Regions from separate parts of the Homo sapiens genome. Here regions 2, 3, 4, 5, 6 and 7 are each linked to region 1. The links are contacts of gene promoters, found by promoter capture Hi-C in blood cells and fetal thymus (Javierre and others, 2016). All regions are on one chromosome and are shown on one strand. The core of a region is centred on a gene start or on the middle of the fragment in contact, and the rest is flanking DNA. Distances in the headings are between cores, read along the strand shown. Region 1 holds the start of BIN3 (bridging integrator 3). Region 2 holds the start of TNFRSF10D (TNF receptor superfamily member 10d). Region 3 holds the start of TNFRSF10B (TNF receptor superfamily member 10b). Region 4 overlaps TNFRSF10B (TNF receptor superfamily member 10b). Region 5 overlaps RHOBTB2 (Rho related BTB domain containing 2). Region 6 holds the start of RHOBTB2 (Rho related BTB domain containing 2). Region 7 has its middle 23 kb from the start of PEBP4.

Region 1 (4,401 bases), core at 539-3,038:
GGAAACAACCTGCTTCGGATCACCCAGAGAATCATTTACCTTTATTAGTTTCTGCTGTGCTCTTCTCCCAACTTGTGAAGGAAAGATTGGTTCAGTAAAGGCCAATCTAGGCAATATAAAGCATCTGTACTGCCTCATTTTCACTTTGAAAAATTAGGTAAGAACACTCCAAAGATTCAAGACGCAGCAGCCAAAAGGATATCTATATTGCAAGACTGGGGGGCCCAGAATGACACTGAAAGGACGTAATTCCTCTGGGAAAGGGAACTGAAGAATTGCCGCTTTGCCCACCACTAACTAGGTTATAACAAGACAGGGAAGGTAGCTTTTTAAGGCTCCAGCCCCTTATTGGCCTCCTGGAGCAAATGGTGGAGGGAAAAGCAGAAGCTCCTGCCGGGGCTTATTAGGACATTGCTTCAGGCTTTCCTCCCGTGCTTGCGGTGATTGTCTGACATTTGTCCATCAATCTTGGTCTAAGAAACAGGTGGGGGAGGGGACAGATGGTTCGCATTTTACTTTAGAGAAGTATCCCTGACACTGACTGATATCAGCTGCTTGCGTTCTCCACTGATGGCCAAAATTAAGCTTCAAAAGCCTTCCTGAAGGACATTCTGTTATCTTAATTCATTCATAACTGGTTATCATGCGCTTTGCATAAACAAACACACTAGCCTCTGAGGACAGAGTGGCAAATATGTTCCCTATGTCCATGGGCTGATTAATCTTGTACATCTCTGGGGCTCAATTTATTCACACACTATAGTTGAATCCCCTGAGGTCCAGGGTTGTGGCTATATAGGTCCTTGGGCCTGACGGTAAGGTAAGGTGCTGCATATGAGTATTCTCTAACCTCTAAGAAAGCCCCAGGAAGGCAGGCAAGTCACAATTCTCTCCTGTGAACATAAATAATCGAGAGCAACAAATGGGGATTGCCTTTTGGGCAAACTGAGTCTTACAAAATAAATACACCATTATGAAGTGTCTACTATGACCCAAGTATCACATCATACTGCAGCAACTGGAATTGTGACTCTATTACTCTAAGACTCCCTGGCTTCTTTTCTCATGGCATGATAGTTCCCATAAGTTTAAACTTAACCATGCCTATTTAGAGGGCAGGCAGTGAGTAATAGCTCTGGAATGATTAAAACCAGTCCAATCCCACAGTGGAAGGGTGTGTGCGGAGTGTAATTCTGGCCCCTTTAAAAAGAGAAGCAAGTTTTCCTTGTCTTTTGAAGCCTGCTAAGTCGTGCAAAGAGGATAGTTACCCAGAAGGGAGTGGGTTTTGATTAGTGAACTGGGTCCAGGCTGCCACAGCGAGGGCCACAGCTCTGGAGGGACTGGCGCGGGGCAGAGATGCCCACAGGAGAGAAAGACGACACTGACTCCACCTCAATGGGTGTTTAAAAAAGGAGGGAACAAGGAAGTCCCTCACTTCAAGGAGCTAGGAGGACGCGAGTCCGGCAAAACGGGTCAGACGCGGAGTCCCAGGCTAAGAGGATCATCCGCCACTCTCCCCGGGAGTCCTGCTGAGAGACTGCGACTCCGGAAAGCACCGAGGGAACGACCCTAGGGCAGGGGCTGTCGGGCCTTGCTCTGGGGCGGAGGGGTCGCGCGGGACCGGAGGGAGCCGGGACGCGGCACTGACACAGGGCCAGGGGCCTCGCGGGTCCGCGGGTCCAGCAGCTCCCGCCGCCTGGGCCTCACTCACCAGCTCATGGTCCCGAACCTGCGTCTGCCGCCGGGGTCCTCAGCCACAACTCGTTTCTCTAGGGTCACTTCCGGATTCAACCAGTCTCCAGGAAGTGACGTAAGCCCGCCTCTCTGCCCGGAAGAGGCGGTTGGGAGGCGGAGCCCGGCGCGTTAACCCTTCTGCTGCTGCGTGCTCGCCGCGGAGTTTCCCTTGCCGGCGACTCTCTGGCTCTGGCCAAGCGCTTAGACACACAGGCTGCAACGGGGGATGAGGGGAACCTCTGGGGGCGTTTTCTGCCTTCAACACTGACTCCTAAAGATCTCTTCACCTGACCATGCAGGGCCCTTAGCCGGGCTGTCCCCTCTGTCAAGTGGTTTCTAATCCAGAGACAGTGGCAGCAATTGTCTGTGGGAGAAGAAGCCATTTGGGATGGAGAAAGTGGAAAACTTACATTCTCTGAATGCTCTTTCCTATCTTTTACAGTTTGTACACCACACATGCATTACCTGTTACAAACAAACGGACGTTTCCCTTCCAAGATGGCACAGGGCTCTGAATATCAATAGATAGGTGCTTTTCAGGTTGGAATGTTTCCTAGAGTTATTCAACACAATAAGACGCAGAGTATGAGTTGTTCCCTGCCTTTCAGCCCTTCCCTTTGGTCTCCTCTACAGGACTCAAATGATGTAAATTGCCCCATTCGTTCTATTCCTTCATTTAACTAATACTAGTTGCACTAATATTAGTGTCAGGTACCGAGCCAACCTTAGGATACAGCTATCTCAGAGAAGTATCTGCCCTGCTCTTGTTCCTTCCCAGAGCTACTTTCCTGGAGGGAGAGACAAGCAGGCAATTATAATCATGCTATAGGATAGGATAGAATGAGGTGTGGTGGCAGCCTAGAAGGGGACCCTGAAGTAGCACATGGGGTTTTGGGGAAGGCTTCCAGGAGGAGCCAGTGTGTAAGCCAAGCCCTGAAGGCAGAATCGGGGCTAGCCAGGTGAATCTGAGATGAGGGGTGACGAGGCTCCAGGCAGAGGGAACTTACCATGGCTAAGACACAGACAGGACCAAGCAAGCAGCTGACTTGCCTCGGGTCTCCCAAAGTCAGAATTCAGGGCCTTAGTGGCTCACAAGTTGCCTGGGATTCTGGGCCGACTTGGTTTCCTCACCGCTAAGTACCTCCCTGCCTTGGAAGAGAGACAAGAAGGCAGTGAGGCCCGTGCAGGTGCTGCTGGGCCCCCAGTGACCTTCTCTCTAGGAATTCTCCTTCCTCAGATGGACCGGGATTGTTTCAGGGACTGCTTAGGGGGTTGCTAATCAATGACCTAGCGGGAAAAATATGACCAATGACCTAGAGCAGAAGTAGTGTATGATTTGTTTTGACCTCCTAGGGTGGAGTAGAGGGCTTGAGCAGGAGAGGTAGGAGGGTGGGCCACAGGATGCAGTCTCTCATTTGTGTTTTCTGTTTCCATTCTTGAGAGTCCATAGTTTGACTCAATTGACGTTTCCAATGGAGGTTGGATCCCCAAGCACATCATGCAGATCAGCTTCATTACCATGTTGTTCCTCAGGAAACAGGCCAAAATGAGCACAAGAGCAGCCTTGAAGAGTAAAGAGGAAGAGCAGAAGTCACCAAAGGGTAGCCTGGGCAGAGAGTGTGGGTAAAGGGAAAGAGAGAGTCCTTGCTGCTTTGCAGAGAGTGTGACGGATGGAAGGGCTGTTGTGGGTTTAGGAGCCTCCTGGCAGTTAGCACCTGTGAATAGTTTTCCCACCTGCTTCCTCCCTTCCCCATGTTCTGCCTCCCTCAGTTATGCCCCACAGGGATAAATATTTCCAAACGTTTTAGCCTAGGTAACTGCTATATCCTAGTAGAAGTCTGTTTCAGGGCTGGAGGGCAGCAGACACATCCTAGAGGACTAGAATGGATAAGTTCTGGACTACAAGTCTGGAGGAGTCTGCGGCTCTATTTCCAGTTCAACCTTTGACACTATAACTGACCTCAGATAAGTCACATCCCCTTTGTGGCCTTAGTCCCCTCATCTATAAGATGGAGTGGGTAGATCACATCCCAAAGTATCCAACATTGCAAGGTTCCAAGTCAGCTGTCTTGTTGACTCTAGAGGCCCTAGGGAAATAGGAGAATGGGAAAGGCAGGTGAACAGAGGGGCAAGCCCAGAGAAGTGGGCAGGTCTGAGGAACTGGTGATATCTTGGATAAAGCTAAATATGAATTTTTCTGGGGCTGTGCTGTTGACAGGTCACCTCGAAATCTTTAATGCAGCCAGCAGGATCTTTGAGGTTACTAAAAAGAATGGTGTCCTCCCAGGAGTCTGTCTGGAATGTGCCTGCTTGGTCTCCTTACCTGTGGCTCATTCGCTCAGCTAGAGGGGCACTGGGCTGAGGAGGGACAGTCAGGCATCCTGCTATCCTGTGTTCCTCCATGAGCCTGCTGTGCCATGAGGCATTGATCCCTGGGGAGCTGAACATGGAGACACACAAACACTTCCCACTGTTGTGAAAAACTCAGCCTGCAGGGTCGGGAGCTATGTCTTTCTTATTTATAACCAAAGGGACAGCATGATACAGATTGATCCTGCCCCTGCAGGGAAGGAATGGAAAAGAGAAAATTGGGTTTCTAAGTAGAAGCTGAGAGTGGAGGCGCTTTGGGTAGAGGTGGATACTCCTGGTTTCAAGCCTTGTAAATAC
Region 2 (4,401 bases), core at 991-3,490, 490 kb after region 1:
GAGTGTAAGCTGAGTTCAATGGTCTTTTGGAAGAAAATTCGTAAACATCTAAAGAAACTTCTGAAATGATTTATCCCACGGAAGTAGAAGTAAAATTCTACTTCTAAGGAGTTGCCCAATAAGCTGGTGCGCATGGACATGTGGACACACGATACATACAAGGGTATTTAGTACAATGCTGTTGGAATTAGCAAAGGCAAATTTGCTTTGGGTTATATCCCATCGGGATGGGATATAACCAGCTGCCTCTAGATGGCAACAGTGAATTAACCTGTGGCTTACCCATGTAGTAAAATACAATACCCTTGTTTAAAAGAAAATCAATCTGAATGTACTGCCATAAAACATCTAATGTGATTTGTGCTAGCTCCAAAATTTTAAAAAGCAACTGTGCATTGAAATGCATTTAATAAGGCAAGATTGATGGAGGGATCAAAGCCTCCTTTGGGACGCATAGAGTTCACATTCCCAAAACTGTGAAATTCAGGTTGCTGGTCTTGTCTACACAGGTCATCCACACATTCTCTCTTCAGGGCCACTGTCCTGACACAGCCATTCTTCTAGCTGCCTCAGGTAGGTCCACCCACTATAAACTATTGTAGAAGTCAGTTGTGTAATTTTTGAGAGGTGAAAATGTCACTGCTGTTCTGAATTTAGTATTACTTCGTTGAAAGAAAACATGGAGACTCTCATGGTTCATGTAATCTTGTTTTATCCTCCCCGTTTTGTTTTTTGGTATTACGTAAGAAACCTTAGAAAGCACTGTTGGCAGAAACGTCAGTCACTCAGAAAAAGTCCTGGCAGTCTGCACATCTTATTTTTATGTCCTTCTTGTGCACCCCACTACCAATCTCAGTTTCCAAACCCAACTCACAACGAGAACTTTACATCTTTTATGCCTAAGGAAGGGGCCATCCCGCGGTCCTGCCTATGGGATACAGAGGGGACACACGGGTGGCAGTGGAAGACACTGACTGCAAGCACCTTGGTTAACCGCTTCCTGCCACTTTCAGGGTTCTATAGGAAATGAAAGTTACAAAAAACAGCGTTGGAAAGCTTTTTCACAGGCTGTTTGTTAAACTGATCTCCAAGAAACACGTGTAACAGTGTAAACATAGGGTTAATTTTGTTTGTTTGTTTGTCTGTTTTTGTTAAGGCAGAGTCTCGCTCTGTCGCCCAGGCTGGAGTGCAGTGGTGCAATCTCGGCTCACTGCAACCTCTGCCTCCCGGGTTCAAGCAGTTCTCCTGCCTCAGCCTCCTGAGTAGCTGGGACTACAGGCGCAGGCTGCCACGCCTGGCTAACTTTTTTTTTTTTTTTTTTTTTTTTTTTGAGACGGAGTCTCGCTCTTGTTGACCAGGCTGGAGTGCGATGGCGCGATCTCGGCTCACTGCAACCTCCGCCTCCCGGATTCAAGTGATTCTCCTTCTGCCTCAGCCTCCCGAGTAGCTGGGATTACAGGCGACCGCCATCACGTCCGGCTAATTTTTGTATTTTTAGTAGAGACGGGGTTTCACCATGGTGGCTAGGCTGGTCTCCAACTCCTGACCTCAGGTGATCCGCCCGCCTCGGCCTCCCAACGTGCTGGGATTACAGGCGTGAGCCACCGCGACCGGCCTGGGTTAACGTTATGAACGAACGAACGAACGAACGAACGAAAGAGGCAACCGCTCTGTGGCTTCCTGAGGTTCACTCCGGGGTTTCCATCTTGACTCCCTCCCTCCGCTGATTCTGGAACTTCCTCTGGGGCAGCTCAGTGCGGTCCTCGCCGCACGGGACAGCCAGGGGGAGCGCGCGCTCTGCTCCCTCGCGGCCCGGTCGCTCCTGCCCAGCCCGGGCACCCCACTCTTCCCCTGACTCCGACGGCGGGTTCGTCCTGCCCAGACATGCCCGGCCGCAGGCGACCCGGGCCAAGCATCCCCACCGTGTCCCCCTCTCTCCCTGCCCACTCCCGGCGCCAGGTGCGCTCTTCCCCAGCCAGGGACCGCGGCGGAGACTCACCGGCAGCAGAACCGCGACGATGAAGACGACGAACTTAAGGATCTTGGGGTCCAGGAGCCATGGTCTGGTTCCCGACGCTGTCCTGGCTCCTGGATAGCGCCCTGCTCGAGCGCTCGAGGCGGTCGGGACGCTTTGTCCCCAAAGTCCCATGAGAAGGGAGGAGGGTGGATCGAAAGCGCCAAAAATCAATCAGAAATCGTCCCCGTAGTTTGTGCGCGTGCAAAGGTTCTCGCAGCTACACTGCCAGAATAGAACGTGCTCCTCCGCTTTTATACCCCGGAAAAAAGGCGTGGTCAGTTGTACTCCCTTCCCGCAGTCACTTCCAGGCACTCAGGCTGGGTCTCCCCCAGCACCTCCAGGAGGGCCCAGGTTGTGTGGGTGGGTGCATGGACGGACAGGAACTGGCTCTTTCCGGCAGCGGTGACCCAGGGCCTGCGGTTTGATTCCGGGTCCTGTCCAGGCTGTAGGCAGCAGAAGGGGAAGGAGCTGAGGCGCTGCCCGCTGCGCTGCTGTAGTCTGGGTAGTGAGCTCCAGAGGAGGCACTGGAGGCCCATCCTGAGCCTGCTCCCTCCCCGGGCCGCCTGTCTCTCCTCTTCTTAAACCCTGAACTACTTCCTGGCCTCAGGACTTCAGTCCACTCTTAGCTTCTGCTCCCACTCCCTCCTCCCACAGCGGCCTCACTGACCAGTGCACTGATGCCACTGATGTCTCCAGCCTCCTTGCTGCTGTGACCCAGCTCCAAGCTTCTCTGGCAGGGGCTTGGTATCCCTCAGTAGCGGGTGCCTGGCACCAAGGAGGGGCCCAGTGAACACATGAGTGGACAGAATGAAGGACACAGAGGCCATGACAGGCACCTGCAGAGGCTGAGGAGTAGGTAGGAGGGAGAGGAACGCCGGGGGCATCCCTAGCCACAACCTGGCACCCTTTGCATGGTCAAAGCACAAACACTCCCTGACCAACCTTGAGGGCTCTAGTATTGAGGCCCCATGGAGACAGGGGAATCAGGGGAGTGCCTTCCAAAGTCTGTCCCCAAGTCTATTGTCTACCCAGGTCCAACTGTCTGACCTTGGGCTACTTACCTCCCCATCCAGTTGAACACACTGCCGCTGTGAGGGCAGACCCAATGTGTGGTTTTGAAGGGTGCCAGCTTGTGACCCTAAGCAGTAAGGTCAATGGCAGGACTCCTAGACCCTTGGGATGAGTCGGCTCCTGACCCCTCACATGGTAGATAGAAGAGGATAGCGCTATAGAAATGAAGGTTTTTTGGCTCATGAGAAACCTGGGAATGAAATGTCATCCTCTCCACAGGCTTGGATTTGAGCGATGGATCACCCTGAGCACCTTCCAGGGCCCAGACAATGACCTAGGGTCAGAAATGTGAGCCAGGGCCGGGCGCGGTTGCTCACGCTTGTAGTCCCAGCACTTTGAGAGGCTGAGGTGGGCGAATCAAGAGGTCAGGAGTTCGAGACCAGCCTGGCCAACATAGTTAAACCCCATCTCTACTAAAAATACAAAAATTAGCTGGGCGTGGTGGCGGGCACTTGTAATCCCAGCTACTCAGGAAGCTGAGGCAGGAGAATTGCTTGAACCCAGGAAATGGAGGTTGCAGTGAGCCGAGATTCGTGCCACTGCACTCCAGTCTGGGTGACAGAGCGAGACTCTGTGAAAAAAAAAAAAAAGAAAAAAAAATGTGTGCCAGGTCCCAGGCACTGAGCTAGGGTCAGAAATGTGCGCCAGGTTTCAGGCACTGAGCTAGACTCAGAAATGTGTGTCAGGCCCCAGGCACTGAGCTAGGGTCAGAAATGTGTGTCAGGCCCCAGGCACTGAGCTAGGGTCAGAAATGTGCGCCAGGTTCCAGGCACTGAGCTAGGGTCAGAAATGTGTGCCAGGTTCCAGGCACTGAGCTAGACTCAGAAATGTGTGTCAGGCCCCAGGCACTGAGCTAGGGTCAGAAATGTGTGTCAGGCCCCAGGCACTGAGCTAGGGTCGGAAATGTGTGCCAGGCCCCAGACACTGAGCTAGGGTCAGAAATGTGTGCCAGGACCCAGGCAATGAGAAATGTGTGGGGTCAGGAATGTGTGCGGGGTGCAGATCCAGGCAGGAGGTGAAAGGTCAGGGACTTCAGGAAGACTGACAGCATTAACACAGAGCCACCAGGGCCTGCAGGAAAGTCCTTAGAGCACCTTAGCTCCCTTGGCCCTGGAGGGTGGACCACACAGTATAGACCAGAAACCAGACTGCAGGTAACAACGCATTCTCTGTGCCCTGTGTGGAGCACTGACTAGGGCTAATGGCAAAAGGCTGTGAGCACCTCCAAGGAACTGGGCCTTTAGAGTCAAGTTTCCACTTAAGAGGCACTTACTAGCTTGAGATGGAACACTAACTGAAGTCTCCCCTGTCAC
Region 3 (4,401 bases), core at 480-2,979, 400 kb after region 1:
TCTCCAAGGAGAACATAAACTCTAAAACCCCAAATCCAAGAAATTCAACACAACCCAGTTGTGGCTTTCTTTACAGAAAAATCTTCCAAGTAGAAAGAACATGAAAGTCTAAAGCCAAAAATCCAAAAAATTCTTTATAGAGATAAAAAAAAAACCCCACAACAGAGCAAACAAACCAAATCACTGCAAACCAGTGCTAAGAAAAATCTTTAAAAGCAGCCAGAGACCAAAGATCCACCACCCAAAGAGAGGCAAGATGCCCTGGGGACCTAGGCCCACAGAAACCACAGCAGGAGGGGGAGGCAGAGGCCCCTGTACACTCTCCTCACTAGGACAGTTAGGTCCTCCCTCCACTCAGAGGTGAGACCAAGGACATACTGTGGTGTGGGGCGGAAACAGTGAAAACATGAGGTGTGTAACAATATCCCATGAAACTCCAATGCTTCACACTGACATTCTTCTAGGTCAACACCAGCATTCTCTTGACCTTCCTTTCACTGTTCCTCCTCTCCCTTCCAGCCCCTCTGTACAGTCTTGAGTTAGGTCTAGGCCCACACACTTCCCCACTCTGAGCTGCGGTCTCTTCCTCTGTAAAATGTGATGATTCAGAACCTCTCCTGGCCCCAAGCGCAGTTCCAGGCGCTGAGCACACCATGCTGTTCCCTACAAAGCCGACTCTTTGTCCCTTCCCCATTATCACGGATACTTGCCAAGAGGTGGCAAGAAAGGCTCTTCCCAGGCCAAAATGCAGCTGCTATTATCAAGCAGGTCAGGCCCCAAGTGCCACAACTCCCTTCTCCTAAATCTCGTTTTCCCAAGGAACCCCAAACAATGGCATTGGCGATGAGCGGCCCCGCACGCGTAGGGGCGCAGCCGCTAAGGAGGGGAAGGGGCCTCTCCAGCTGCGCCCGCGACGACTCCCGCGCACGGAACGGAACCACTGGGCCGCAGCGACCACAGGGGAGTTCTTCGCCGGCCGCAGGTTCAAAGCGATCTGCAATGAGCGCCTTTAGGAATTCATTCGAAGGCGCAAAAGAAAAAGAAATTAAGGCAGGAACTGAGCGAGGAAGGAAGGGAGGGAAAGAAAGGAAGAAAGAGAAAAAGAGAAAGAAACAGAAAGTAAGGAAAGAAAACAAAATCAAAGTCCGACGACCTCTCCGTGGCTTCACGCAGCTTACTCGGGAATTCCCTCCTTGTCGCCCTCCCCCACTGGATTCGGGAATTTACACCAAGTGGAGCGCGCGCTCTGTTCCCTGGCGGCCCAGGTCGCTCCTGCCCAACCCGGGGACCCATCTCTTCCCCCGACTCCGACGACTGGTGCGTCTTGCCCGGACATGCCCGGCCGCAGGCGACCCGGGCCACGCACCCCCGCCGTGTCCCCCTCTCTCCCTGCCCTCTCCAGGCGCCAGGCACGCTCTTCCCCAGCCAGGGACCGCGGCGGGGACTCACCAACAGCAGGACCGCGGCGACAACGAGCACAAGGGTCTTGGGGACCCGGGGCCCAGGCCTGGCTCCCCGCGCCTCCCTGGGTCCTGGGCCGTGCCTTTTCCGGGCCCCCGAAGCGGCCGGGGCGTTCTGTCCCCGTTGTTCCATGGCGGTAGGGAACGCTCTTATAGTCTCTCAGGCCCGTGGGTTTCAGCCCTTAAAGTAGATCGGGCATCGTCGGTGTATTTTGTGGGCGCAGAGATTGCGGGGTTCTCCGGCCGCGTGCTGATTTATGTGTCCAGGCTGACTTGGGGCGGCGCGGCTGTACTTTCACTGCCTCCGGGCAGGCGTCATTCGGGGCGGGGCGAATCAGATCCAATGTGCAACTGCAAATTCCACCACAGGTTGGTGACAATAAATAAGAGTCTCGTCAACGCAATCCTCCGCAAGCGCGTCCAAGTGGGGAGGGGAGGGGAAGGGACCGGAACTAACCTTCGCCCTGGCGGCTGCGCCCCGGGCTGTGGTTTGTTTCTGGGTCCTGTCCGCGCCAGGACAGGCACCGAAACTTGGGGGAAATGAGTTGAGGGAGGCACTTGGGGAGTTGACGCCTCCCGGGGTCGCGCGCTTGGCTGTGAACAGGGTCTTGAGGTTCAGAGTCCGCTTTCCAGGCGCGTCTTGATCTTCTCCCCTTCCCAGGGGCACCTGCCCCTTCTGTTCTCTCCTTCTCTCTTCTTTCCTTTTTTCTTTCGTTTTCTTTCGTTCTTTCGTCTTCTTTCCGTCCTTCCTGCTTTCTCTTTCCTTCCTTTCTCTCTTTCTCTTTCCTCCCTCCCTCCCCCTCCCCCTACCTCCCTTCCTTGTGGTTTATTTTTTGAGACAGTCTCTCTGTGGCTCAGATTGGTGAGCGGTGGTGTGATCCCGGCTCACTGCAACTTCCGTCTCCCAGGTTCAAGCGATACTCCCACCTCAGCCTCCCATGTAGCTGGGACTACAGGCCTGCACCACCACGCCTGGCTAATTTTTGTATTTTTAGTAGACACAGGGGTTCACTATGTTGGCCAAAAGACCATCGAACCCAGCTTACACTCACACCTAGTCCACAAATGTGCCTGTGTCCCTGCACCCTTGCTACACTTAGCTTTCATTTGTCACTAGTCTAGGAAATAAAACATGATACATCACATTGTTATGTATTTTCATTCCTTCATGGTACTGTGTCCGGAATTGGTGGGTTCTTGGTCTCACTGCCTTCAAGAATGAAGCCTCGGACCCTCGCGGTGAGTGTTACAGTTCTTAAAGGCGGCGTGTCTGGAGTTTGTTCCTTCTGATGTTCGGATGTGTTCGGAGTTTCTTCCTTCTGGTGGGTTCGTGGTCTCACTGGCTCAGGAGTGAAGCTGCAGACCTTCCCAGTGAGTGTTACAGCTCTTAAGGCAGTGGGTCTGGAGTTGTTCTTTCCTCCTGGTGGGCTCGTGGTCTCGCTGGCTTCAAGAGTGAAGCTGCAGACCTTCAAGGTGAGTGTTACAGCTCATAAAGGCAGTGTGGACCCAAAGAGTGAGCAGTAGCAAGATTTATTGCAGAGGGAAAGAAGGAAGCTTCCACAGTGTTACCACTGCTGGCTCTGGCAGCCTGCTTTTATTCTCTTATCTGGCCCCACCCACACCCTGCTGATTGGTAGAGCGGAGTGGTCTGTTTTGACAGGGCGCTGATTGGTGGTTTACAATCCCTGAGCTAGACACAAATGTTCTCCACTTCCCCACCAGATTAGCTAGATACAGAGTGTGGACACAAAGGTTCTCCAAGGCCCCACCAGACTAGCTAGATACAGAGTGTCAATTGGTGCATTCACAAACCCTGAGCTAGACACACGGTGCTGATTGGTGTGTTTACAAAACTTGAGCTAGATACACAGTGCCAATTGGTGTATTTACAATCCCTTAGCTAAACATAAAGGTTCTCCACGTCCCCACCAGACTCAGGAGCCCAGGTGTCGTCACCCAGTGGATCCCGCACCGGGGTTGCAGGTGGAGCTGCCTGCCAGTCCCGCGCCGTGCTCCCGCGCCGTGCGCCCGCACTCCTCAGCCCTTGGGTGGTCGATGGGACTGGGCGCCCTGGAGCAGGGGGAGGTGCTCGTCGGGGAGGCTCCGGCTGCACAGGAGCCCACGGAGGGGGTGAGAGGCTCAGGCATGGCGGTCCCGAGCCCTGCCCGTCGGGAAGGCAGCTAAGGCCCGGCGAGAAATCAAGCGCAGCGCCAGTGGGCCGGCACTGCTGGGGGACCCAGTACACCCTCCGCAGCCGCTGGCCCGGGTGCTAAACCCCTCATTGCCCGGGGCCGGCAGGGCCGGCCGGCTGCTCCGAGTGCAGGGCCCGCCGAGCCCACGCCCACCCGGAACTCCAGCTGGCCCGCAAGTGCCGCGCGCGCAGCCCCGGTTCCCGCTCGCGCCTCTCCCTCCACACCTCCGTGCAAGCTGAGGGAGCGGGCTCCAGCCTTGGCCAGCCCAGAAAAGGGCTCCCACAGTGCAGCGGTGGGCTGAAGGGCTCCTCAAGTGCCGCCAAAGTGGGAGCCCAGGCAGAGGAGGCGCCGAGAGCGAGCGAGGGCTGTTGAGGACTGCCAGCAAGCTGTCACCTCTCAGTACTACGGATTTTCAAGAATACAGGAGTTTTTGGTACTGGGAGTAGATGACTGGGGGGATCCAGGCAAGACTACAGGGGAGGGCGGCAGAGAAGACTTAATTCCCAGCTGTGTACTTGGAAAACCGTGCTCAGCTGGGGCCAGTCCCTGCCAACCGCCATGCCTGTTAATGGAAATAAGGTCTCCATCCTCAGGCTGTCAGGGTGACTTCAGATGAGCCTGGAGCTGAGCTCAGTTCCGGACCCCAGGTCCTGGCTCTGTCAATGCCGGACTGGTCCAATCTCTATGCCAGGTCCTTCCAACCCCATCCCTCTCTTTATCAAAGTAGGAATCAAGAAGATCCGAAGGCT
Region 4 (4,401 bases), core at 1,245-3,744, 370 kb after region 1:
TCACAAGTCAACCTTGCTCCATACACATACATGTCCTTAAGATCGACGTCAGTGGTCACACAACGTGCAAGGATGTGATCTATGACAGCAACAATAGAAAGCTGGAGAGATGGAGTGGTACAGGAGCACAGTATTTGGATTGCAATGAAATTCTGCCGGTATTATAAAACTACCTGTTTAGATACTTAAGAAGGTAATTGTAATCTTCAAGGAAACCAGTAAGAAAATAAGTTTTAGGCTAGGTGCGTGGCTCATACCTGTAATCCCAACACTTTGGGAGGCCGAGGCAGGTGGATCACTTGAGGTCAGGAGTTTGAGACAGCCTGACCAACATGGTAAAACCCTGTCTCTGCTAAAAATCAAAAATTATCCAGGCATGGTGGCTACTCCCTGTACTCAGGAGGCTGAGGCAGGAAAATCGCTTAAACCCAGCAGCCATAGGCTGCAGTGAGCTGAGATCGCACCACTGCACTCCAGCCTGGGTGACAGAGCAGACCCTGTCTCAAAAAATATATATATATCTATATATATATTTAAGATATGTATCTTTAAGATATATACTAAGTATATATTTAAATATATATTTATTAAATATATATATAATATATATTTATTAAATATATATAATATATATTTAATAAATATATATACAAAATATATATTTATTAAATATATACAAAATATATATTTAATAAATATATATACAAAATATATATTTATTAAATATATATACAAAATATATATTTATTAAATATATATATACAAAATATATATTTATTAAATATATATACACAAAATATATATTTAAGAAAAACAGAAAATATATTTTAAAATATGCAGAAAAGAAAAGAAGTGAGTGAAAATGGTACATGCCAAGAAATAAACTAAAGTTTTTTCAAAAGGTGATAAGGGAGGAACAAAATATATATAAGACATAAAGAAAACAAATAACTGAAGAGCAGAAACAAATCTTTTCTTGTCAATAACTATGTTAATTGAAAATAGTTTAAACTCTGCAATTAAAAGGCAGAGAGTGGCAGAATGAGTAAAAACAAACGCAAAAAATAGACCATAATCACCTATATGCTAGCCACAAGATTCCTGAATTATTTTTATTAATATTGAAAGACATTCTAAAAAATCCAAATTACACAAACCTTACTTAATAATGTAAGTATCATACATAATCATAGTGATTCATGTCACTGATAAAAACGTGATTATTTAATAATAGTGTTGGGGCAACCAAAAAGGTGGCTGTCAAATAATAATGTGTCTTCCTCACTCTCCTCTTACTACAAAATGAAGTCCATGTGGCTCAATGACTTAATTACAAAATAGGAAACCACAAAATGACTGCAAAGATATATGATAATTTTTTTTTTGTTGTTTTTTTTTTTTGAGACAGGGTCTCACTCTGTCACCCAGGCTGAAGTGCAATGGCGTGATCTCAGCTCACTGCAACCTCTGCCTCCCGGGTTCAAGCGATTCTCCTGCCTCAGCCTCCCAAGTAGCTGGGACTACAGGCACGCCACTATACCCAGCTAATGTTTGTATTTTTAGTAGAAACAGGGTTTCGCCATGTTGGTCAGGCTGGTGTCAAACTCCTGGCCTCAAGTGATTTGCCCACCTTGGCCTCTCGAAGTGCTGGGATTACAGGTGTGAGTCACTGCGCCCGGCGTTATATGGGAATTTTTATTAGAATTTTGGACCCAGCGCAGTGGCTCACGCCTGTAATCCCAACACTTTGGAAGGCCGAGGTGAGAGGATCGCTTGAGCCCAAGTGGTTGAGGCTACAGTGAGCTATGATCCTGCCACCGCACTCCAGCCTGGGCAACAGAGTGAAATCCTATCTCAATCAGTCAATCAATCAATCAATCAATGTATAATTTCCCTAATCTGTAAGAATTCATGTGACTCAATGATTTAAAAAAAAAAAAAAAAAAAACCTAACCTCTTACTAGGAGTGAAGAAAACCTAGGAGAACCAGTGTACAAACAGTGTCTGTGTCATGAACAGATTCTTGACCTCATTCACAGGAAGAGAAATGCACATTTCGAGGAGTTTCCACATCTCAGTCCTTGACACTTGCTATGGCCTGCTCCCTGTGGCTGGAAGGGCCATCTCTCCTCTAGGATGGAAGTTCTCCAACTGCTCCTGCTCAGCCCATTGCAGTCCTGTCTCCCTGGCCTATCGTCTCCAACTTCAAATCCTCATGGGCTCAGTTGTGCCCCTCCTCAGTATTTACAACTTCTTCCAGGTGGACACACTCAAGACAGCGGCTTCAAGCATCACCTATGTGCTAGGGTCCCCAAATGTGTACTGCTAGCCCTGCCACACACTGTCCCCTCAGAGGCCAAGTTACCCTGAGCAGTTGAATTTGGTGCCTCGATTGTCCTCATTCCCCACACGTCATCCATCCACACCCCAAATATGTCTTGAGTCCTTCCTATTCCCGTCCTGCTTCCTGGTCTTGACCCTGGACCACAGCAATAGGAGCATTTACAGATGAGTTTGTGTCTGCTTCACGCTGGGTTCTTCCTTCTCCATGCTCTGCTCCTGGCAAGCCCACATGTGCAATGTGAGGGTTTGCCCTCAGGCAAGCCTTTCCTGTGGCCCTTAGTCATGGAAAAGAAATGCAACTTTGTAAATGGATTTTAAAAGCCACTGCTTGCCACACTTGCCTGCCCTGGAAACCTTCATGCAGCAATCAATTCCTAACTCATACACATGGGGGAAAAGGGGGAAGAAGTGCGAGGCGAACACAACAGTCAAGCACACTTCAGGCCAGGTTCCTGCTGCATCTCTGGGGGCTCAAATGACCTTACGGGACACCACATAACATCCCAGGGGAGCGCCTCACACTCAAGGCCCTCCACCTGCTTCCTGTCTTGCTCCGGTTCAGTCCAGGAGTGGGCACTCAAGATGTACATCCGATGCTGGTGGCCCTCTGCTGAAAACTTCTCAGGGACATCCATCACTCATGAAATAAAATCCAGCTTCATCTGTGTGGGATCTGACCCCACGTGTCTCTCTAACTTCCTAACCCTCCACTCCCCACAGCAGCCCCCTGCTGTTGCTCCATCTTCTCCAACTCTTGCCCCCTGGCAATTGTTCCAGTGGAACCCTCCTAGGAGCACTCTTCCTGGCTCTCTGAACCTCTGGCCCTGCCCTCCTCCGGATGTCAGCCCAAAGTCACCATTGCCTGGAGGCCTCACCAGCCCCATCTCTGTCCCACTCAATTCTCTCTCAAGGTTCCTATCAGTTTCTTTGGCTGTCTCATTCATTTGTGTGTCTTGATACCATCCTAGCAGGAAGGCTCCAGAAGGACAGAGCCTTGAACTGGAGGCACCCAATGCCTCTCTGTGGAATAAAGAACAAGGAAGTGCAAAGGAAACAGACTGGAAGCTCATGGAGACAAGGGGAGGAGGGGCAAGGATTAGAGACCCATCTTGAACATACCAGGTGGACACAATCCCTCTGAGGGGCTGGACCTCTTTTGTTGTGGGGCCGCTCTCTGCTGGGGAGCTAGGTCTTGTTGGGTGATCAGAGCAGACTCAGCTGAGACCTGTGGGGACAAAGCAGGGATGGGCATGAGTGGCTTCCAGACCTCACCCCTCCCAGGATCCACTCACATTCTCTTGAGCCCAGGCACCCAAGCTAAACAGAACCCTCATCTTTCTTGCAGCTCTCACCTCTCAAACATCCTTTAGTGTTTGTTTGTCCCTTCATATTTCAGGGAAGGCCAAGTAACATACACCTGCAAAACTCTTCTAAACATGTTCATTCCAGAAAATGTGGGCAAGGAAAGTTTTTACAAGAATACACAGACCACACGTGATATTCTCAGCTAAAGATAGCATCCATTAATATTTTGTCTCATTTAGTTCCACTATTTTTCCATAGGTATGCCTATTCTCTCTTTCTCTCTTTCTCTTATTCTCTCTCACACAGACATACACACAGACACACATTTTTATAAATGGGGGTTATAATATAGCAAACTTAAAAAATTGGGATACAGGATCAAACATTAAATAGTGAACTTCTGATTTAAAAGGTGCCTGACATATAGACCAGAGAGCCCAGAAATGAACTTGCACGTACAACCATGTATTGCTCAACATTGTTCTGAGCAAAGGGTCATTAGGCAATTGTGTTGTGTGAACATCAGAAGAGTGTACTTACACAAACCTAGATGGTGTATCCTATGACACACCTGGCCTATATGGTATAGCCTTTTGCTCCTAGGCTACAAACCTGTGTAGCATGTTACATAATTGCATGGAGCCACCATCACATATGCAGTCTGTTGTTGACAGAAATGTTGTTATGTGGTGCATGACTGTATATGATCAAGTAATTTTTGGCAAAGGTATAAAGACCATTTAATTGAGAGGA
Region 5 (4,401 bases), core at 1,034-3,533, 350 kb after region 1:
GAAACTTTCACCTCCCAGGTTCAGGAGATTCTCATGCCTCAGTCGCCCGAGTAGCTGGGATTACAGGCACGTACCAACACACCCGGCTAATTTTTGTATTTTTAGTAGAGACAGGGTTTCACCATGTTGGCCAGGCTGGTCTTGAACTCCTGGCCTCAAGTGATCCACCCGCCTTGGCCTCCCAAAGTGCTGGGAGTATAGGCGTGAGCCACCGTGCCCGGCCAGTTGTTTGTTTTTGAAGTATTATTATGGCCCCTTAGATTTGAACATTCTTGATTGGTTTCAGTTAATTGCAGTTATCCTTGCTGAAGCTCAAATCCTGCACTCTTTGGCTTGACTCCAGAGTCTTACGAGCTTCCTCTCTATCTGGAATGATGAGATGTTCTAGGTTCCTCTTGAAGGTTCTGTGCCCCAGACCTGGAATCAGCCATTTCTCCAGGAAGTCCTAGTTTCTTGTGTTGGAAGTGGAACTGGTATTTGTGTGCACTAGGAATGCTCATTGTACTGGGATGACTGTTGTTTCTAGGTCTTTTCTGGGGGCAGAGCTGGGAAATATATTGATCTTTTTAAAGATAAGATACCTCATGAGTTTATACTGATACTTCTAATTAAAATTCAGAACCAAGGGTGTTTACTTCTTCAATATAAGTGTTTTAACTTAAAATACAAGGTTAGTACACAATTTTTTACAAAATTTAAATTAAAACAAACAACTAGACTTAACTCCTAGTTCTAACTCACAGTTCTCAGCCTTTTTCTGTGATCAGCAGACATGAGGTTTCACACACTCTCCCTTTTGTATCAGAGGCTGGTTCTGTTGGGAACTTTGACCCTACCTGTATCAGATTATGTCACGGGACATACGTAGTTTGAAAAATCCTCTTAGGTAATTCCAATGTCCTCCTTCTCTTCCTACCCTACCCCGTTGAGCTCTTGCTGTCATCCCTGGGGTCCCCCTGGTGGCAGCAGACGTCATAGCCTGGGGCCTTTCCTGGCCTGTCCGGACCTGCCCGGGCCCTGGTTTTCCTCACCCTGAAGTGAGCTGGGGGATGTGGTGGGGCAGGGTGAGCACAGGTCATGTGCTTCTTCAGCTGATTGGTGGCCGTGTGTGTTACAGAGCAGTACACAGTGACCGGGCTGATGGAAGCGACCCAGATGATGGTGGACATCGATGGGGACGTCCTTGTGTTCCTGGAACTGGCTCAGGTATCATGGCAGGGGAGGGAATCTACAACAGTCTCAGTTCTACACTCTGCCTGCCCATTGGCTGCGAATGGGAAGGGGTGGAAGATGGTCTATGCGGGAGAACCTGTCATCGGACTGGGCTCTTTGACTGCGCGTAGCCCATCTCCTCCTCCATGCCAGGAAGCAGCTGGGGAACTCCCTGGTGTACCCGGAGGGGAGCTGACCAAGTGGGGAAGGGATGAGGCTTTAGGCAGCAGTAGGGCTGGGGAGGGAACCCCAGGCTCAGGCTTACACATGGTTGCTGCCTGCCTGAGGTCATTTAAGGGGCACTGAGGACTTTCCATCTGAAATTAACCGCCTACTCCCTTAATCCCAAACAAACAAGCCAAATCTCCCACAGTGGCCTTCACAGTGCCAGAAATTCAGCCACCAAAGATTAGTGTGTGGAGTGGAAGCACGGCTCAGGCAGGGCTTGCAGACACCCCTGGGAAGGCAGCTCCCTTAGCTCATTGTCAGTGCCTCCGTGCAGGCTGCCTTGATCCCAGATGTGGAGGAGAGAGAAGTCAGGTAGGTTGAGATCTGAGGAGGGCAGATGCAGTATGAAGCCACTACATAGGGCTCTGGTGTCTGCAGCGAGGATGCCAGGAGTGGGCAGAACAGAGGTGAGATGATGGTGGTGCTGGCGGTGGTGCCAAGGAGCCTGAGGCAGCATCATCATCCTCAGTTTTGTGTGGCCTTGCCTCTGGCGCAGGCTCTCTAGAACTGCAGGGCCTCTGCGTGCCCTGCACCAGAGCTTCAGCTCTGAAGGCAGCTGGAGGTGTCTATGCAGACCCTCTCCCCTGGGGATTTCAGTACAGACGTTCTTCCCTTCTGTCCCCAGTTCCACTGTGCGTACCAGCTGGCCGACTGGTGTCTCCACCACATCTGCACCAACTACAACAACGTGTGCCGCAAGTTCCCCCGAGACATGAAGGCCATGTCCCCAGGTGAGCATCGGGGCCAGTCCTGGCAGTACCTGCTGCCCTCCCCTTAGGGGTGCACAGCTCCCATGTAATCCCAGGGACCCCGAGGCTGCCAGTAATCCTTGACCTTGGGGCTGGGAGCAGCCTGCAAAGGAGCCTCCAGCCAAGCCAAGGGGCCCCAGGAAAAGTGCTGGCCTGGAGGGCAACTCACCCTGCCTCTCTGGGCTTCTCATTCTCAGAGGTATGAAGAGGATACTGGACTAAAGTTGGTAGATTTCAGACTTTTCTGGACAGAATACCGTAAGAAATACATTTCATCTTGTGACCCAGGACACATATAGGAAAATATATACATCTTTCTAATGCTGCTCATGGCCCACTAAATTGATGGTACAACCCAGGAATGGGTACAGGCCACAGCTTGGACCACCCAGGTCTGGGCATCCTCTGAGGCCTCCTGTCTCTTCTTGATTAATTTCTTAGGCCCTAGAACTCAACAGAAACTGCACAGGCTCCAGGGAGAGGTGTCCCTGGCCTCCCTGAAGGGTCTGCCACTCTTTCCATGGGGTCCTCTCTGGGCTCCCTCCAGTCTGCCGTGACCCTCCTCCCTGCTGCCGTGTTTTTGCCTCATGCTGCCAAGTCTCCACCCCGATCTCTCCTTTTCACTACTACAACACTTTTAAAAAAAAATTATTTATTTATTTATTTTTTTGAGACAGTCTTGCTCTGTTGCCCAGGCTGGAGTACAGTGGCACAATCTCGGCTCACTGCAACCTCCACCTCCTGGGTTCAAGTGATTCTCATGCCTCAGCCTCCCGGGTAGCTGGGATTACAGGTACCCACCACCATGCCTGGCTAATTTTTTGTATTTTAGTAGAGACGGGGTTTCACCACGTTGCCCAGGCTGGTCTCAAACTCCTGACCTCAGGCAATTTGCCTGCCTCGGCCTCCCAAAGTGCTAGGATTATAGGCATGAGCCACTGCACCCAGGCTAGCATTTTCTTTCTAAAGCACAGGTCCAATAGCATCACTCCCTGCTTCCAGACCTTCCACTGAAACAGTAGTCTTCCATGGCCCCCCATACCCTGCAGAATAAGGCCAGCCGTTCCTCTGGTCTGCTGCTGTGTCCTGCTGTGTCCTGACTCCGTATTCCCCCTCGGAACCTTAGCTCTGGCCAGAAACTTCCACTCTCATCCCCTAACCATGCTGAGTATCTCCTGGCTGACATTCGCTTACCCCTTCTCCCTTATCCTTCGCCTCTGTTTCATTCCCAACGCACAGGAAGCCCTTGTCTAGATCGCCCGTCTTTGGAAAGGAACCCAGCTGGAAAGGCCTTCCCCAGTGCTGACTTTCAGCCCTGCTCTTTGGGAACTTTGCTTGCCTCGGAGGCTCATGTGCCGTGGGTCATGGGGATGTGCTGGGGGCTGGGCTGGAGGCCTGCTGCAGGCCTTGTGGTGGGGTAGGGCTGGTGTCCCACGTTCCTCTTGTCCCTCTGCCTCCTTTCTAACCAAGCTGCCTGCTCTCTGCTCCAGAAAACCAGGAGTATTTCGAGAAGCATCGGTGGCCACCTGTGTGGTACCTGAAGGAGGAAGATCATTACCAGCGGGCACGGAAGGAGCGTGAGAAGGAGGACTACCTCCACCTCAAGCGGCAGCCCAAACGGCGTTGGCTCTTCTGGAACAGTCCATCCTCCCCGTCTTCCTCGGCAGCCTCCTCCTCATCCCCATCTTCCTCCTCGGCTGTGGTCTGAGATGCTGCCACCCTCTTCTGACCCTGCTGCTGTTGTCCCCATCCGCCTTCACCCCTCTGCTCTTCCGCATCACCCCATCCACCTTACAGGGACCAGGGGGCCCACGTAACCAGGACCCAGAGGGTGGAGCTCTTCTTACCAGCCACCGTGGCTCAGCCAGAGAGGAGCTGAGCCCTGTGGAGCAGAACGGGAACCACCTGCAGAGGTCCCCAGACCCAAAGCAGGACGGGAGACAACTGCTTGGAGGAGCGAAGAGCCCTGGCATTTTATCTCTGGGTTTGAGAGCCCTAGAGTCAAAGGGAAAGCCTCCCAGCCTCCAGGGCTTCTCTGTGTGTCTTGGTTGCTGCTCTGGCCAGGGAGGCAGCCCCACTCCCAGCAAGCAGAAGTGATCCTCGAGGGTCCTGCCCCTGTTGGCCATATCTTTCCACCGACGGACTTGAGTGTTGCATTTGTTTTGTGGGCATTTCCACACGAAGCCTACTCACACCCTCACTGGAGAAGTCA
Region 6 (4,401 bases), core at 1-2,500, 330 kb after region 1:
TTTGCATTTTCAGAGCACAAGATGGAGGAGTGGTGGAGGCGGTTCAGGTGGGTGGCAGGCTGGTCTGGGCTTTAAAAATTGTCCAGAGGTAACTGAGGAGATGAATCAAACCAGACTGAGCTGACTACTTAACACTAGCAGTCAAGATCATCCTGGCTGGGCATGGTGGCTCACGCCTGTAATCCTAGTACTTTGGGAGGCCAAGGCAGGCAGATCACCCGAGGTCAGGAGTTCGAGACCAGCCTGGCCAAGGTGGTGAAACCCCGTCTCTACCAAAAATACATAAATTAGCTGGGAATAGTGGCGTGCACTTGTAGTCCCAGCTACTCGGGAGGCTGAGGCAGAACTGCTTGAACCCAAGAGGCGGAGGTTGCAGTGAACCAAGATTGCACCACTGCACTCCAGCCTGGGCAACAGAGGGAGACTCAAAAAAAAAAAAAAAAAAAAAAGATTATCCTGATAAAACCAGCCTTGAATATGGAAAGTGTCTTCTAGGGACCCCTCAGGTTATAGATGTTATACCTTAGAATCTCTCTATTTTACAGAGGGGTAAATTGAGGCAGAAAACCCAAAGAAGGCTTAGGGACGATTTTCGAGGCTACTCACTTCATGGTGTTTCTTTCAGAGATTAGCAGCTATTACTGAACTCCAGGAGGCAACAGGAGGGGGATGGGATGGAGGTGGGGACCCGCTGAAGAAGGCCTAGGTGGGAGACAGGTAACGTGGTACAGGTACCCACCCCACAACTCATTAAGGGCCATGGAGGGAGGAAGGCTCTCAAGTGCCACGAAAATTCCCAAAGCAGCAGAGGGCTTGTATGGAAACGCCGGTTATTCGTCCCTACCCGGCCCCCGCCCCCCGCCCCCCCGACTGCCCCTGCCGTCGCCTCCCCGTGGGCAAGTGGTGGGGGCCTGGGCTTACAACCACACGTTCTCCTCCAACTAGCATCCCTTCCAGGGTGCACTAGGATGCCTCTCAGAGGTTCTCCCCCGCCTCCCGAAGGAAAGGGGAAAACCCCGTGGGCGTCCGGAGAGCCTTTGCGCCTCGCCAGGTGGAGGGACCGGCGCCACCCAGACCCGCGAGCCGAGACCCTCCCCGCGGCGTCGCTGCGGGAGGGGCGGAAGAGCGCGGGCGGTGGGCGGGAGCGGTGCTGCGAGGCGGGATCTGCGGGGCGTCCAATCCCCTTCTTCCCCCGCCCGCCCCCTCCCCGCCCCCCGAACGCTTTCCACCAACTGCGCGCGGCAGTGGGCGGGGCCCGTCACGGCTGTCGTCTTGGGTGCGATTTTTTTCTCCTCCTTTTTTTACCCTCCCGTTTTTTTCTTTTCTTTTTTTTTTCCCTATCCTTTTTTTGTGAATGAAAAAAGGAGGTCGCGAGCGGTACCTGGGACTGCAGCGCCAGGCGTCTTCGCGGCAGCGCCTTCGCCGCGGGCCCGGGCGCGTAGCGGCGGCGGCCTCGCCCCTCTCCCGGCGCCCCTGCGCGCCGCCCGCTGCCTCCGCAGCCCGGCTCCGCGCGCCGCCGTGACATTGGGCGCCTGGCGCGCGGGGCGATGCTGATCCGGAAGGGGCAGCGGCTGCAGTGCAGCGCGCGCGTCCGCTCCTGGGCCCACGTCCGGCCTGGGCTGCCCTGCCGGAGTTTCTGAGTGGCCGCGAGCTGGCCGGGAGGCTGGAGCCCAGCAGCAGCGCGGCGGCGCCGGCGTCGTCCCAACTTGCAGGCGCGGAGGGACCCCTGACATTTCACTAAAATGAGCGTGCTCAGCAGGAAGAGATGTGTTCCTCACGCTAGAAGCCACCCCGTCACATGTAGTGGTGTAAGTAGATGGCTGCTTGCGGTTATGGCGGGGTGGCCAGCAGCCCTTGCAGACGCGCCGCTCCGCCCTCCCTGCCCTGCCGCGCCCCTCGCTACGTTCCCCGGGCCCCGCTAGTCCCTGGGCTCTGGCTTCGGCTGCTGGGTACAGCGGGGCTGGAGCCTAATCCTTTCCGGTGTTTCTAGGGAAAGGAAGATGACTTGATTGCTTCGGCCTGTCGTGCCCCTCCCCCTTCTCGATGTTTAAAAATTTTTAAATTTCTATTTTGTGTGTGTGCAGAGTAGCGTGTCAGAAAAAAGGAAAAACGGTCCAGAGTGGTGGGAGTGATTCTGTTAAGAAAACAAACACAAAACAACAGTGGAATTGGGGTGTTTTGCTGGCGGTTCCGGAGCTGGTTCTTTGAACTCAACTCCATTGCAGTCTATGTAACTGAGTTCTGTGAAACTACTGGGGAGATCTTTGGCGGTGTTTGGTGATGTGTCCACATTTTAGGTTTGAGGGGGCTTATCTGTGTTTAGGCTTGCATTTCTTTAATCTGACCATTCAGGGTCCCTTTGGGCCTTGCTTTCTGTTGGATCTGCACGGGGCTTCTTGCAATGCCAGCGACCCCCGTGGGAGCCTCCCCGAATTAGGAGTCCACTCTCTCTTTGTTCTTCTCCTTCCAATTCTCCATTCAATCCATCTCCCTTGATTTTACCTTCATTTTCAGGATTTTCCTCCCATTCCCATTTTGTAAGATGATGTGGGATACTGGTTGCTAGGAGACAAGCCAGGCTCCCAGGGAGATTCTGTTGTTTCCTTGACAACCAGACTAGGGCAGCCACAGATGAACAAGCCTCCTATCAGCTGTGGGAGGGAAAGGGGCCCTTTCTGAGCTCTGCAAAGAGTGTGTGTAGGGGTGTGGGGGTGGGACTGGGAGAGCACGAGGTTTGTAGCTAATTTCAGCACACCTTGGGTTTTGGCTTGCACCAAGTACAAAGAGCTGGGAGAGCGGTGGGCAGGAGGCTGTTTTTGGAGGGGCACAGGGATCATGGGACAGGGATGGAAGGAACACATGCCAGTGACTTTGCGATTGTCATGGAAGAGGAGTGAGTTGGGGGTTGTGATGCCCAGGGCTGGGTGGTGAGGAGGTCATAGTTTATGGAGGTTGATTGAGTGGGGATGAGGCAATTGTGAGGGAGAGTCTGGAGTCAGGGAAGAAGAGAGAGCCGGAGGGAGAGGGGAAGCTGAGAGGCTCACTGAATGGGCTGTATCACCATATATCAGCAATGAGTGGGCTGTATCACCATACATCAGCAATGATACAACATCAGCAACATCCTAGGGCAAAAATTATATTACTCTTGGCACACTCTCTCCAGGACAGGATCCTCCTTTAAGACAGGCCTGATTAGACTAAGAGTTCTAACACTTGAATTGGGCCAGTCTGTATCTTAAAGACAGATATAATTACACATATAGATATGCAATCTAGCATTATATAATACCACATTACATAAGAAGACAAATACCTCCTTTCAGCCCAGCCTCTCTTGGCACAAATTAACCACGGTTCAGGAGACTCTTCCAATGTCTTCATACCCATTTCCCAGAGGGGGAGACTGATGCCCAGAAAATATAAGTGACTTGCCTCTTCCTAGATAGGACAGTGAAGTTTGCCAGTCAGGCAGTTGGGACAGGGTAGAAAGGGTGAGATGATACAAACAGAGAGGCAGCTGAAGGACAAGGGGACTGCTGAAGGGGCTGGGGAATGGATGGAAGGGGTTGCGCAACCCAGAAGGTCTGATGTCTAAACTCATGGCACAGTATTTGTCAATTTCCACTTGTTGATTGGCTGACCACTGCTTAACTCTAGAGGTGACATAGCACAGGTGGGCAGCAGTGTTTTCATCACAAAGTAGCTGAACTTGGCCCAGCACTGCTCTGCTGGTGTTCTGGCATTATTCTCACTGTCAAGGTGCTCCTGAATTTGAGAACTGGCATCCCTCCATTAGGCCTCCTCATTCCCCCGCTTCTGTCTACAGACCTACATGCTGGGAGAATCGGAACTTGAGAAAGAAGTTCTTTTGGCTCTTGGGTTTTAATCTTTATCCTCCAGCTGCACATATTTTGTATTTGGGATTATATCTGTTTTGGTATTCACTCGACAAAACAGAAACCACAGCCCAGATGCTGCCTCCTGGCGCCAGCACATTCCTCAACTTGAGATCAGGAACTGTCAAAGTGGGGTTCCCGGTCCTCAGTTCAGGAGAGAGAATTGGGAGGAGGAAGCCTGTGGTTAGAATAACAGTTCTTAACAGTTCTCTGGGCCAGGTGTGGTGGCTCACGCCTGTAATCCCAGCACTTTGGGAGGCCAAGGCGGGCAGATCACTTGAGGTCAGGAGTTTAAGACCAGCCTGACCAACATGGCGAAACCCCGTATCTACTAAAAATACAAAATTAGCCGGCATAGTGGCACACACCTGTAATCCCAGCTACCTGGGAGGCTGAGGCAGGAGAATCACTTGAACCCAGGAGGCAGAGGCTGCAGTGAGCCGAGATCATGCCACTGCACTCCAGCCTGGGTGTCAAGCGCAAAACTCCGTCTCAAAAAAAT
Region 7 (4,401 bases), core at 509-3,008, 280 kb after region 1:
TGGCAACTCTGAATGAATGTGCCTGAGTTGACTTCACTGCCGATCCCTGTGTGTCTCCCTTCGGAAGCGCAATCCTGTGGGGCAGGAATGCAATCTGATGGAGGGAAGGAGCCTTCCCCAAAGGCCGGCCTGGGGCCCAGCCTGGGTATATGTGCAGCCTGAGTATTTTTCCATAGATGTGACTGGGAAAGGTTTCTGAAATGAGTGGCCTTGGGGGGACTTCCTAAGCTGGTTGGCTAGGGAGTAATAACATTTCTGAACAATCAGGCTGTCCCCAGTGCCCTGTCTCTGGGCCTCCTCTAGCTCCCTCCCCTTCTGTCTGGGGCCTGCCTTGGGAATGCTCTCTACCCCCGTTACCCGGCTACCAAATCCCACGCCACCTAAAATGCCCAGCTCTGGCCCGGTGCCTTCTTCAAGCTTTCCTAATGGTCGCCTGGGCCAGCATCACTCAGGCTGAGACATCATTATAGACATCCCCCCGCTTACAATGATTTGATTTATGATTTTTCAATTTTATGATGGTGCAAAGGCAACATGCGTTCAACAGAAACCATACTTCAAATTGTGAATTTCGATCTTTTCCTGGGCTAGCAGTATGTGGTAGGATACTGCCCCGTGATGCTGGGCAGTGCAGAGAGTGCAGCTCCCATTCAGCCAGACGATCACGTGGGTGAACAACCTGATACCACATGCTGCTGTGTCCTGCATCCAGTAAGTTACATGAGAGAGTCAACACTTTGTTATAAAATGGGCTTCGTGCCAGATGATTCTGCCCAGCTGTAGGCTGATGTAGGTGTTCTGAGCACATTTAAGGTAGGCTAGGCTAAGCTGCGATGCTCAGTTGGTTAGGGGTATTAGGTGCATTTTCGACTTATAATAGTTTCCATTTATGATGGGCTTATCAGGATGTAACCCCTTCATAGGTCAAGGGGCATCTGCACTTGACTTTCTACCTGTGCAGATCTTGCCTTCTCAAGTAGGTCATATATTTCTTGATGGCAGCTTCTCTGTCTTGGTATTGGTAGGGGTCCTTGGGAAAACTTTTTTTGAGGGGCTTGGGCCTCCCAAGAAAATATCACTTGACAACGAGACCTTCTTCCTTTGGTCACCAGGTTTCCTACTAAATTAATAGAGTCCACAGGCCTTCAATTATAAACAGATGATGCCATGGCTTCACCCACTGGGTCCCTTGGAGGAAGGTGTTTCTGGAGGACCCACCAGAACCCTCCCAGTTGCTCATGTTGGAAGCATGGGGCTGCTGGAAGAATGCCAGCCCCTCTCAGCCAACGGAGACCATGTGCCCCTATCTGCAATGGTGAAGACTGGAGCTCTTCACTCTCTTCAGGGTTGAGCTCCTCCAGTTTCTCCCCACCCCTATCTAAGACAGGCAGCAACACTGCAACTTGCTGTTGGCCCACTCTATCTAGTGAAAATATTATCTCTCTTAAGTTGTATCATTTAATGATACTGAAGTGGCGTCATTGTCTGGGGTAAATACCTGAGGTTTGTTGTCTCAGCCAAGAAGGTTAAGGACACAGACACACACCAGGAGAGAACTTAGGAGTGGAAGATTAATAGGCAAAAGAAAGAGAAAAGAGAACAGCTCTCTCTCTCTTGCAAGAGAGACAGGGGTCTCAACGGGAATTCTGGCCTGTGCCTGAGTGCACTGGATATTATAGACTGGCTTGAGGAGGTGGTGCCTGATTTACATGGGGCCCACAGATTGGTTGGACCAGTTGTGAAATTTACATAACACGCAGGGTAGGCTAGCTACCCCATTCTAATCTTATTATGCAAAGGGCTTTCCACTTGGTCTGTGCTGTGTTGTCTGCTTCTTACTGTACACGTGGAAGTAAGGAGTGGCAAAGAGAAGGGAACACGGAGCCGCCATTTGGAACATGCCTAGCTCCAGGTAGCCTTTTCCTATTGGCACAACTGCCGGCATTCACCGCTGCAAGTTTCTAGCTTACTTGTCTATGTCTGCAGCTCTATTTTATAGGCTGCTCTTTGTTAGAAAAGAAAATGATTTGGGGGCTGTTTTTCATTAGAAGAAAAACCTTACCAAGGACTTCCTTACCCTTACTATCTGCCCAAATAATTTCCTCTTAACTGATATCAGTACTGTAACATAGCCTATCCTATCATGATGTAACTGAGCAACCCCATTTTTCTAAGACAAAAAGGTTTAAAAATTTTTTTTTCCTTTCTTTTTTCTTTCCTCCTTTTCCCCGTTTCCCACTTTCTACTTAGCTCTTTTTTTTTTTTTTTTTTTTTTTTTGAAATGGAGTCTCACTCTGTCACCCAGGCTGGAGTGCAGTGGCGCGATCTCAGCTCACTGCAACCTTCTTCTCCCGGGTTCAAGCGATTCTCCAACTTCAGCCTCCTGAGTGTCACGCGCATCCATGTAAAGAGTCCACCAAGCAGGCTTTGTGTGAGCAACAAGGCTGTTTATTTCACCTGGGTGCAGGCGGGCTGAATCCGAAAAGAGAGTCAGCAAAGGGTGGTGGGATTATCATTAGTTCTTATAGGTTTTGGGATAGGCGGTGGAGTTAGGAGCAATGTTTTGGGGGCAGGGGTTGGATCTCACAAAATACGTTTTCAAGGGTGGGGAGAATTATAAAGAACCTTCTTAACAGTGGGGGAGATTACAAAGAAACTCCTTAAGGGTTGAGGAGATTACAAAATACATTGATCCGTTAGGGTGGGGCAGAAACAAATCACAATGGTGGAATGTCATCGGTTAAGGCTATTTTCACTTCTTTTGTGGATCTTCAGTTGCTTCAGGCCATCTGGATGTATACGTGCAGGTCACAGGGGATATGATGTCTTAGCTTGGGCTCAGAGGCCTGACACCGAGTAGCTAGGATTACAGGTGTGCGCCACCAAGCCTGGCTAATTTTTGTGTTTTTAGTAGAGACAGGGTTTTACCATGTTGGCCAAGTTGGTCTCAAACTTTTGACCTCAAGAGATCCGCCTGCCTCGGCCTCCCAAAGTGCTGGGATTACAGGAGCGAGCCACCATGGTTAAAGAGCCTCTACTTAGCTCTTTAGAAATGTAATTACAACCTTTACCTTCCCTTCACCAGGCATTCCCTACAGGGCAAGCTTATCTAACTACGTGCTTACTTAGAACCTCCATAGCCAGAACGCTGACCCACTGGGAGAGACAACAGTCAATTTGCCACCTAAAGTATGCCCTTGACCCAACTCTGTCCCACCTGGCGAGTATCTTGAAACAATGGCCATTGTACAACCTAGTTCTGCTTGTGGTGGCACCAGCTGAACCACCTGGTAGATAAGGCACCAAAGTGAGTCATGCAGACCCCCACCTGCTCGCTCCCTCCTCTGCATGCCATGCATGCATGCCAAGTCCCCCTTTAAAATCCCCTGATTTCTGCCCCAAAAGTAAAGCAGTACCCTTAAAGGCAGGAGTCTGTACTTCTTCCCCAAAGCTAAGTCTTGGAATAAAGGCACTTTCTTTATACTGTTACCAGCAGTGAATCCATAATGGTCTGCAGCAACCTCAATTCTTGCCTCCTTAGAAGAAGGAATTTACCTGAAGGATATAAGGCAGAGTGACAGAGGAAGGCAAGTTTTACAGCAGGAGTGAAAGTGTATTCCAAAGCTTTTGAGGCCGGGTGTGGTGGCTCATGCTTGTAATCCCAGCACTTTGGGAGGCCGAAGGCAGGTGGATCACCTGAGGTCAGGAGTTCCAGACCAGCCTGACCAATGTGGTGAAAGCCCATCTCTATTAAATATGAAAAATTAGCCGGGCATAGTGGCGCATGCCTGCAATCCCAGCTACATGGGAGGCTGAGGCAGGAGAATTGCTTGAACTCGGGAGGCGGAGATTGCAGTGAGCCGAGATTGCACCATTGCACTCCAGCCTGGGCAACAAGAGTGAAACTCCTGTTCAAAAAAAAAAGTTTCAAGCGGGAACAAAAGGAAGTAAAGTGCACTTGGAAGAGCACCAAGTGGGCTACTTGAGAGATCAAGTGCTTGGTATGGCCTTTGACTTGGGGTCTTATACATTGGCATGCTTCTGGGGAATTGCATCCCTTCTCCCCTGATTTTTCCCCTGGGGTGGGCTGTCCACCTGCGCAGTGGCCTGCCAGCACTTAGGAGGAACCACATGTGCGGCGTGTTTACTGGAGTTATACACGTGCTCATTTGAGGCACTTTTCCCTTACCAATTGAGTGTTCCTAGAGGAACGTCATGTACCAGTTACACTCCGCCATTTTGCCCCATGGTGCGCATGCTTGAGCCCACTCTCCCAACTCCTAAGATCTTATTGTTGCTGATCACCAGCTTCAGGTGTTTCTATGTGTTGACAGACTGCCTTTCCCTGGTGCTGGCTCCTACCAATTATTATTTTAGAGAGACAACTAACCACAGTCTGAC

What was found. The method cuts DNA at HindIII sites, captures the fragments that hold promoters and counts their contacts. A CHiCAGO score of 5 or more calls a contact.
Region 2: the fragment with the promoter of TNFRSF10D here is called in contact with the fragment with the promoter of BIN3 in region 1 in 2 of 17 cell types (naive CD8 T cells and fetal thymus); the score reaches 7.9 in naive CD8 T cells.
Region 3: a contact is called between the fragment with the promoter of TNFRSF10B here and the fragment with the promoter of BIN3 in region 1, in 13 of 17 cell types (neutrophils, monocytes, total B cells and 10 more). The highest score is 18.2, in neutrophils.
Region 4: a contact is called between a fragment that was not itself captured here and the fragment with the promoter of BIN3 in region 1, in 1 of 17 cell types (M2 macrophages). The highest score is 5.0, in M2 macrophages.
Region 5: a fragment that was not itself captured here is called in contact with the fragment with the promoter of BIN3 in region 1 in 9 of 17 cell types (naive B cells, total B cells, M1 macrophages and 6 more); the score reaches 7.4 in naive B cells.
Region 6: the fragment with the promoter of RHOBTB2 here is called in contact with the fragment with the promoter of BIN3 in region 1 in 4 of 17 cell types (fetal thymus, M2 macrophages, M0 macrophages and 1 more); the score reaches 8.7 in fetal thymus.
Region 7: a contact is called between a fragment that was not itself captured here and the fragment with the promoter of BIN3 in region 1, in 1 of 17 cell types (M1 macrophages). The highest score is 5.6, in M1 macrophages.

The regions. Positions count from the first base shown.
Region 1 is chr8:22,667,333-22,671,733 of GRCh38, forward strand. BIN3 (bridging integrator 3) reads right to left here and starts at 1,789. Exons shown (of 9, transcript NM_018688.6): 1 at 1,712-1,789. The coding sequence starts at 1,719. RefSeq lists a silencer at 1,489-1,648 and enhancers at 1,512-2,141, 1,899-1,958. The HindIII fragment of the contact is 6,679 bases long and covers 584-4,401 here.
Region 2 is chr8:23,161,787-23,166,187 of GRCh38, forward strand. It overlaps TNFRSF10D (TNF receptor superfamily member 10d), which reads right to left and starts at 2,241. Exons shown (of 9, transcript NM_003840.5): 1 at 2,000-2,241. The coding sequence starts at 2,149. RefSeq lists an enhancer at 1,979-2,098. The HindIII fragment of the contact is 1,686 bases long and covers 1,055-2,740 here.
Region 3 is chr8:23,067,302-23,071,702 of GRCh38, forward strand. TNFRSF10B (TNF receptor superfamily member 10b) reads right to left here and starts at 1,730. Exons shown (of 9, transcript NM_003842.5): 1 at 1,450-1,730. The coding sequence starts at 1,593. It also overlaps the pseudogene TNFRSF10B-AS1. RefSeq lists promoters at 1-2,822, 1,590-2,260, enhancers at 1,114-1,373, 1,914-1,963, 1,984-2,153, 2,935-3,229, 3,551-4,050 and a cis regulatory region at 1,715-1,720. The HindIII fragment of the contact is 4,380 bases long and covers 1-3,012 here.
Region 4 is chr8:23,039,676-23,044,076 of GRCh38, forward strand. It overlaps TNFRSF10B (TNF receptor superfamily member 10b), which reads right to left. Exons shown (of 9, transcript NM_003842.5): 2 at 3,463-3,568. Among named protein-coding and RNA genes, the nearest start is that of TNFRSF10B, 27 kb to the right of the region's middle. The HindIII fragment of the contact is 7,583 bases long and covers 1-4,401 here.
Region 5 is chr8:23,013,573-23,017,973 of GRCh38, forward strand. RHOBTB2 (Rho related BTB domain containing 2) reads left to right here. Exons shown (of 10, transcript NM_015178.3): 8 at 1,118-1,206; 9 at 2,066-2,171; 10 at 3,680-4,401. The coding sequence ends at 3,897. Among named protein-coding and RNA genes, the nearest start is that of RHOBTB2-AS1, 16 kb to the left of the region's middle. RefSeq lists enhancers at 755-1,519, 1,021-1,070. The HindIII fragment of the contact is 9,071 bases long and covers 1-4,401 here.
Region 6 is chr8:22,998,298-23,002,698 of GRCh38, forward strand. RHOBTB2 (Rho related BTB domain containing 2) reads left to right here and starts at 1,251. Exons shown (of 10, transcript NM_015178.3): 1 at 1,251-1,808. RHOBTB2-AS1 (RHOBTB2 antisense RNA 1) reads right to left here and starts at 1,508. Exons shown (of 2, transcript XR_007060857.1): 1 at 1,382-1,508. RefSeq lists silencers at 931-1,190, 1,411-1,580, 1,911-1,960. The HindIII fragment of the contact is 10,673 bases long and covers 1-4,401 here.
Region 7 is chr8:22,948,992-22,953,392 of GRCh38, forward strand. It overlaps a transcript of RHOBTB2 not described here. Among named protein-coding and RNA genes, the nearest start is that of PEBP4, 23 kb to the left of the region's middle. RefSeq lists enhancers at 3,141-3,772, 3,773-4,401. The HindIII fragment of the contact is 2,687 bases long and covers 416-3,102 here.